Regions from separate parts of the Homo sapiens genome. Here region 2 is linked to region 1. Evidence: promoter capture Hi-C in 16 types of primary human blood cells and fetal thymus (Javierre and others, 2016). All regions are on one chromosome and are shown on one strand. The core of a region is centred on a gene start or on the middle of the fragment in contact, and the rest is flanking DNA. Distances in the headings are between cores, read along the strand shown.

Evidence for each region. Contacts are between HindIII fragments. The CHiCAGO score rates a contact against its expected background, and 5 or more counts as called.
Region 2: the fragment with the promoter of ZCCHC7 here is called in contact with the fragment with the promoter of GRHPR in region 1 in 7 of 17 cell types (fetal thymus, total B cells, erythroblasts and 4 more); the score reaches 10.1 in fetal thymus.

What each region holds. Positions count from the first base shown.
Region 1 is chr9:37,420,410-37,424,536 of GRCh38, forward strand. GRHPR (glyoxylate and hydroxypyruvate reductase) reads left to right here and starts at 2,287. Exons shown (of 9, transcript NM_012203.2): 1 at 2,287-2,424. The coding sequence starts at 2,342. RefSeq lists enhancers at 1,633-2,258, 2,259-2,884 and a silencer at 2,099-2,248. The HindIII fragment of the contact is 7,938 bases long and covers 1-4,127 here.
Region 2 is chr9:37,118,192-37,122,318 of GRCh38, forward strand. ZCCHC7 (zinc finger CCHC-type containing 7) reads left to right here and starts at 2,383. Exons shown (of 9, transcript NM_032226.3): 1 at 2,383-2,432. It overlaps LOC105376034 (a long non-coding RNA gene), which reads right to left and starts at 2,209. Exons shown (of 3, transcript NR_188580.1): 1 at 1,605-2,209. RefSeq lists an enhancer at 2,045-2,124. The HindIII fragment of the contact is 2,192 bases long and covers 1,849-4,040 here.

The DNA.
Region 1 (4,127 bases), core at 1,037-3,536:
TGACTCAGCCTCCCAAAGTGCTGGAATTACAAACCATGAGCCACTGCACCTGGCCTGTTCCCAAAGAAACAAGAAAGATGTTTCTTGTACATCTTTCCAGGGATATTTAACACACAGAAATAGGTGGCCAGGTGTCGTGGCTCACGCCTGTAATCCCAGAACTTTGGAAGTGGATCGCTTTGAGCCCAGGTGTTCGAGACAAGCCCGGTCAACATAATGAAACCCTGTCTCTACAAAAAATACAAAACATTAGCTGGGTGTGGTGGCACATGCCTGTGGTCCCAGCTGCTCAGGAGGCTGAGGCGGGAGGATCATTGGAGCACAGGAGGTAGAGGTTGCAGTGAGCCAAGATTGCACCATTGCCCTCCAGCCTAGATAACAGACTGAGATCCTGTCTCAAAAAAAAAAAAAAAAAAAAAAAAAAAAGAATAGGCATATACTTTCTCCTATAAATGGTAACATATGCACTTTGCATCACCCTGTTTTCTCACTGGACAGTACATCTTGGAGATCATTCCACACTGGTACGCACAGAGCTGCCTCACTCTTTTGATTGATGCAGAGTATTTCACTGTGGGAATGAAGCATACGTAATGAACAGTCCCCTATGAGTGGACCTTTAGGTTGTTTCCCATATTTTACTATTCCAACAATGCCACAATGAAGAGCCTTTGGCAGATGGCATTTTGCACATGTGTGAACGCGTCTGTAAGGTAAATTCCTAAAAGCAAAATTTCTGGGTCAAAAAAGATGTGCAGTCTAAACTTTGATAGCTACTGCCAAACTTTCTTATTGAAGTTGCTGATTTACACTCCTACCAGCAACGTATGAAAGCACCTGGTTCCCCAATGTATTATTTTTTACATTGGTATCTTGCTGTAATTTTAATATGCAGTTCTTTTGTGAGTCAAGTTGAGCACTTTTCATCTTTTGTTTTTTTTTTTTGTTTGTTTTGTTTTTTTTTGTTTTAGATGGAGTCTCACTCTGTCACCCAGGCTGGAGTGTAGTGATGGGATCTCGGCTCACTGCAACCTCCATCTCCTGGACTCATGAGCAATTCTCCTGCCTCAGCCTCCTGAGTAGCTGGAATTACAGGCATGTGCCACCATGCCCACCTAATGTTTGTATATTCAGTACAGACAGAGTTTCACCATGTTGGCCAGGCTGGTCTCAAACTTCTGACCTCAAGTGATCCGCCTGCCTCGGCCTCCGAAAGTGCTGGGATTACAGGCATGAGCCACCGCGCCCAGCCATACATTTAAAGGCCATTTTCTTTTCTATAAACTGTCCATTGATATCCTTTGCTTATTCAGATAAGCTGGGCATCTTTGTCTTAGGAACTATTTGTGCAATAAGTAAATCAACCCCTTGTCTATAAAATGAGTTGCAAATATATGGTATTTTTCCCGGTTTGTTGTCTTATGATTTTGTTAATTTTTTTTTTTTAAGATAAACATAAGCCTGGTATTTCCAGGCACCTGGTATTTCCAGGCAGTCTCCCATACAAGCCCTAACCAGGCTTAGTTTCCAAGATCAGATGCATTCAGGATGGTACGGTTAATTTTTCAATGGAGAATTAGTTGTACTCTTATGGCTTCTGGCTTTCGCACACATAGCGTATCACTTATTTATTGCTGCATAAAGAATTACTCCAAAATTGAACGGCTTAGAGCAACAGCAGTCAGTGCATTATCATCTCTTATGGTTCCGGGGTTGACTGGGCTCAGCCAGTGATTCTCCTAAAGGCTCTTTCTTGCAGTTTTAGCTGTAGTCAGGTGGGAGTTGGCCTGGAGTCACCCGAAGGCTTCCTCACTCATACCTCTGGTCATTGACGGTGGCTGTGAGCCGGGCCCCTGGCTGTGCTGTTGGCCTGAACACCTACACGTGACCTCTCTGTGTGTCCTGGACTTCCTCACAGCCTGGAACCTGGGTTTCTACCCTGGGCCAACCCAAGAGACAGAAAAAGTGGGGGCTTTCAGTCTCTTAAGGCCTGAGCCTGTGGAAACAGGACCCTGAGCGTGTAGAAAAAGCAGGGCTCCCATGAGGCCTTGGACGGGATACTGCCCCCTCTCCCCCGGGGCCCTGATTCCCCAGTGGCACGAGGCGCACCCCCCCACACACACACAAGGACACTGTGTAGGGTCACTGTTACTGTCACTCCCCGAGCACGCACAGTCACCGCTCAGCCGCAACCCGGCGCTCCCTCTCGCGAAGCCACACCCCCTGCGCACGCCGCGCGCGACGTCTCTCCCGCCCACTCCAGCCTGGCCCCGCCCCGGCCCAGCTACATTCCCGGGCCAGCTTCTGTACTGCCAGGTCCGGGTCGGCGGCTGCACTGCGGATGAGACCGGTGCGACTCATGAAGGTGTTCGTCACCCGCAGGATACCCGCCGAGGGTAGGGTCGCGCTCGCCCGGGCGGCAGAGTAAGAGCCTCGCGCGCCGTGGAGGAGGGAGCAGGGCGGTCCCAGGGACCGGAGAGCCGGGCGGGGCGTTTGGGCCTTGTGGCCGGCTGGGGCAGGCTTGGAGTTTTGGGGAGTCTCGGAGAAAGTTCTCTGGGGCCCAGTTCTCCTCTTAAGACGACGCTGGGACCTGCAGTTCCGGCTTTGGAGAGGGGAGATTGCCCCTGAGGCAAGGTCCAGGCTAATTCTCCACGCTCCCACAGGACATGTGGGGTCAGGGACATGGCGGTCACTGACCAGGCCCTTGGACGTTTGGCAGGGGGCTTTGATGACTCTTCTTCTTTATATTTACTTATCTTTTTTTTTTTTTTTTTGAGACAGTCTCACTCTGCTGCACAGGCTGGAGTGCAGTGGCTCGATCGATCGTGGCTTACTGCAGCCTCGACTTCTTGGGCCCAATCAGTTCTCCCACCTGAGCCTCCCGAGTAGCTGGGACTACAGGCGCAAACAATCACTACCGGCTAATTTTCTGATTTTTTTTTTGTAGAGATGGGGGTCTCACTCTGTTGCTCAGGCTGGTCTCAAATTCCTGGGCTCAAGCAATCCTCTTGCCTCAGCCTCCCAAAGTGTTGGGATTACAGGTGTTAGTCACCATGACTGGCCTGAGGACCCTTTAATTTTTAAGACAGGGTCTCACTCTCATCCAGGCTGGAGTGCAGTGGCACCATTATACCTCACTGCAGCCTCAACCTCCTGGACTCAAGAGATACTTCCACCTCAGCCTCCCAAGTAGCTGGGACTACTACAGGCATGCACTACCATGCCTGGCTAATTTTTTATTTTTTTCAAAGACGAGGGTCTCACTGTGTTGCCCAGGCTGGTCCTGAACTCCTGTACGAAGGGATCCTCCCACCTCAGCCTCCCAAAGTGCTGGGATTACAGGCATGAACCACTGCACCTGGCCCACCCTTGCTAAATGGAACCCTTTTTGTGGGCCAACCTTGCCAGGTGCTTCATATACATAAACTTTTAATCCTGGTAGCACTGTGAAGTCAGTATTATAATTCCCATTGCACAGATTAAAAACTGGAGGCTGGACTTAGGGTTAAGTTTCTTCCCAAAGCCATGCAGCTCCCAGGTGGAGGAGCTGGGGCTTGTACTCAGAAGTGTCTGACTGCTGTCTGATCACTGCATTTGATCAGGTTTGTGTTTCCAATGTTAGATAGGAAGAGGATGCAATCCAGCCTCAGCAGCCAGTTCTAGGGGCATATGAGATTTTCAAATTTTGTTCACTGCAACAAAACCTTTGCCAAGGACCCACTTTGTACTGAGCAGGAGAAGGTGGAAGGCAGCAACCGCGCCCATGGTAACAGTAGCTCACGCTGTACCCTGCTCATGGGGAGGTGGATGAAAGGTGGTCAGTGCCCTGGGCTCAGTCAGGAGGTGCAAGTAGCTATCCTGTGTCCTGCCACATAGAGGCTCCACACGTGCTGACTGTACTGAATTCCATGGCAAGGGCCAGGAGGCACCGTGCATCACTGGGACAAATATCTGGTTGCTGTGAGCTGCCGTGGAAGCGTTGGGTGGCCTTGACCTTATCTTTCCTGGCCCAGTCCAACTATGAGAGTTTTCTATTTCATGGACTCCACGGACAGGAAGAGATGCAACAGGCCATTGAATCCAGGCCCCCCACCTGAGGCACACCCTGCCCCCCACGGGCCTTCCCT
Region 2 (4,127 bases), core at 1,133-3,632, 300 kb before region 1:
GATCTTATTTTAAATATAGATGGGGTCTTCTTATGTTGCCCAGGCTGGTCTCCAACTCCTGAGCTCAAGCGATCCACCTGCCTCAACCTCCCAAAGTGCTGGGATTACAGCCATGAGGCACCTTGCTTGAGCTTTAAACATTTTTGTTCAGACGGTCTCATTCTGGAGTGCAATGGTGCGATCTCGGCTCACTGCAGCCTAGACCTCCGCAGTTCAAACCTCAGCCAGGAACAGCTGGGACTCCAGGTGTGGGCCACCACGCCCTGTTATTATTATTATTTTTTTGACACGGAGTTTCTCTCTTGCTGCCCAGGGTGGAGTGCAATGGCGCAATCTCGGCTCACTGCAACCTCCGCCTGCCGGGTTAAAGCGATTCTCCTGCCTTAACCTCAGGAGTGGCTAGGATTACAGGCATGCGCCATCACGCCCGGCTAATTTTGTATTTTTACTAGAGACGGGGTTTCGCCATGTTGGTCAGGCTGGTCTCCAACTCCTGACCTCAGGTGATCCGCCCGCCTCGGCCTCCCAAAGTGCTGGGATTACAGGCGTGAGCCACTGCGCCCAGTCGCCCAGTTAATTTTTAAATTTTTAAATTTTTTTGTAGAGACAGCGTCTTGCTATATTACCCCGGCTGGTTTCGAATTCTCGGCCTTAAGCTATCCTCCCACTTCGGGCTCCCAAACAGGTGAGAGCTACCCCATTAGCCAGGCAGGCATTCAAACTTTATCAGGCCCAGAGGGACTTGAGTATGGTACTTCAGTTAGCACCATCCCATGTAGGTGGTGGTGGGGGTGGGGGTGGGGGGTAGGGGTGTGTGGCAATTGTTTAAAGGCATTTTGTTCTTTTCTTCCCAGTACCTGCATCACCCTTTATCTTCGTGTTCCTAAAATTTGTGATAGAAAGAACAATGTGTAGCCAATGGATAGCTTATGTTATTTTAGTGTCAATTCTTGGTATGTAGTTTAGCAAAAGCCTCTTCTTTTTTCCTTTAAAAATTCACTCGTGGCCGGGCGCGGTGGCTCACGCCTCTAATCCCAGCACTTTGGCAGGTCGAGGCCAGGAGTTCGAGACCAGCCTGGCCAACATGGTGAAACCCCGACTCTACTAAAAATACAAAAATTAGCTGGGCGTGGTGGCAGGCGCCTGTAATCCCAGCTACTTCGGAGGCTGAGGCAGGAGGATGGCTTGAATCTGGGAGGCGGAGGTTGCAGTGAGCCGAGACCGCGCCATTGCACTCCAGCCTGGGCAACAACTGCGAAACTCCGTCTCAGGAAAAAAAAAAAAAAAAAAAAAAAAAAAACCATAAAGAAAGAAAAAAATTCACTCGTAGCTGCTACAAGAAGTGTAATGGCTCATGCCTGTGATCCCAGTGCTTTGGGAGACAGAGGTGGGAGGATCGATACCTTTAAGCCTGGAGCTTCACAAGACAAAGAACTCAGTTGAAACTGCTGCTTATCGGATCACATATTAAGGGCAACTTGAATTGATGATCCCAGGTTGCCCTCATCAAACTTGGCCCAAATAAATTCTCCACTTATATTAACTTTGCCTCAGTTTTTCCTTTAGGTCGACAGTTATTTCTAAAGTTCTACAGATGGGTTTACCTTGTATTAAAATAAGGTGTGAGAAGGGCAAATGAAGCCAGAGGCTCCCAGCACAATCTTGCAACCTTCAGAGACTTCCAAAGGATCAGCATTAACTCCAATATTTAGCAGGAGTGCAGCTCTTCGAGATTCACAAAGTGTTAATCTGTTGCCTAGAATTCCAGAGAGTTGGAGGCGCCCAGTGTGAACTGTGTTCCGCCTAAAAGAAAAAGCGACCAGCCTAAGATCATGAGCGCAAGGGAGAAGCTTGAAGCCATGCGCTCTCAAGTACGCGTTTCCCGCTGCCCAGGTCTGCGGGCCAAGCAGCCAGCCACGCTGGCCCTCGTCATGCACGCGATCAGCTAGGCTCCCGCGCCACGTGGCACTGAGAAGGCGTCCACCGAGCGCCAGGGAGAAGGAGGCGGAGCCCGGCCTCAACCTCGCCCGTGTCCTCATGGGGGTTGTAGTTTTCCTCGCGGGGGTAGAGGGCACGAACTCCCCGGCTTTTGCCCGGTAAATAGCATCTCCTTCGTACGAGTCATTCAAATAATAGATGCAGCCTAGGTAGCTTCAAGAGAAGTTGGGAAGGGGAAGGGGGAAAGCAAGGAAGGCAAACCTAATAATTATGGGCGGGGCAGAGAACGGTTCGCACCCACTACGCATGCGCACATCAGGCGCGGCAGGTGGGCGGGGACGGAAAGGCGGTGACTAGAGCTGTGTTGTCCCCGGAAGTGCCTTCCCTCCCGGGTCTGCGCGGACGCGGCCTCCTTACCTCATTTGTCCTCGCCCCTCCCCGTCCCTCTACGCGTTTTGGTTCCCGGTTGGTGCTTCCTGTTCGCAGCTGCGGCAGTGAGTATGTGTGTGACGGACCCCCGCCGCCCGCGGCTCGGGACCCCTGCCTACCCTCCTTCTTGCCCGCCGGGCTGTGGAACTAGCGCGTGCCCCCTCGCCGGCCTCGACGTCTCCCGTCCGCCCCTCACTCGTGGCAGGGCGCAGCTCCTGGTCCGTCACCTGCGCGCCGCCCCACGCGGCCGGGCTGCGGGTCTAGGGGGTCCGCGTCTCCCTGGCTTTCCAAGGGCTAATGCCGTGATTCTAGAGCGGCTGGGCGTCTAGGGCCTCGGTGAGGGTGGCGTGTCTGCCCTTTTTATTTCCCCGCAAGGCCCCCAGTCTTCTAGGGAAGCCAGTCAGTGAAGCGCGGAGGTCCCGGCGCGCCGAGAGAGAGTCCAGTCTTTGAGGACCGAGTAGTCCTGGGCCACCTCCCGCCTCTGCTGTCAGAAGCAGCAGCTGCAGCAGTAGAATCCAAAATTTCGGGAGCTGTGACCCTTTCCTCATGTAAAACGAGTAGACTTGGACTGTGTTTACTAAGGCGCCCTTTATCCCTCCCATCCTGTGAGCGGACAGTTGCCTTCAACTTTTGGGAAGAGCTGCTGGTTCGGTGGAAAAGCTGTGGCTGGGAATCAGGAGGCCTGGGTTCTAGCCGTGGCTCCCCCACGGATTCGCTGGCGATTCCAGAAAGCTCTTATTGAAGCTGAATTTAAGATTATTTCAGATTGCACAGTTGAATTACGGGCTGCATTAGTAGGGCCTTTTTAGCTCAGTGAATAAGTTTCTCTGAGCTCCTTTCTCCAACTATAAAACGAGAGCGTTCAATTTGATGACTTTTCAGGTCCCCTCAGAAGCTCTTGACTTTGTGGTTTTCTTTTTCTTTTTAAAATTTTTTCTAGGACCGTTAGAGAAATGACTTCGTGTTTGAATAGTTAGGCTGTCGCATACAAAGACTTTTAAATGGATTGTGTGTATACTTAGGAAAGCGTTATGCTTTCAGGAGAATCTGAGCATGGGGAATAAAGTCAGGAAGGATCGCAAGTGAGGATTATATTAATATGATAATTAGCACGGTAAGAGACTGCATGACCGAAGGAAAAGGGCTAAGGGAAAGGTGAAGGAAATGTTTCCGGATAGGATTAGTTCTCGTAAAAATCATATATATATCCCAAGAAGAGCTGGGACTTAAGTGACTAAATTTAGCTTATTTTTTTTCCCCCACTGAAATACTGTGCTCTGTTTGTCTTTTGTGACTTTTGTTTTACACATTTGGATTCTCCATCCCAATCAGATTTGATTCAGAGTGGCCATCGCATTTGAAAAATGGACAGACATTTTAACCCTTTAGACAATTGTGTTTCAACTGTCCTGTCAGGGCAGCTTACTAAGAGTAAGAAAAATTTTACTTTGAAAGTAAAGTGTATTCATCACATTCCAATGAAAATTGGACTGAAAATGAGGCTGTGGATTTGATTTAAATCGGCCGGAGATGGATGCGTGTGTCATCAAGAAGGAACATCTAGGGAGGCTAAAGATATTTGGAAGTAAATAAGAGCAAAAGGTCAGAATGACCAGTAGGTAGACTGTGAGAGCAGAAGGATTGATTAAAGACTGTGTTAAGTAAATGCTGAAAGCTTAAATAAGCCTTAAGTTGTCTAGTTTAAAACAATTCAGTCAATGAATACTGCTCCCTCTTTTGAATGGTAATAGCCTTTGCAG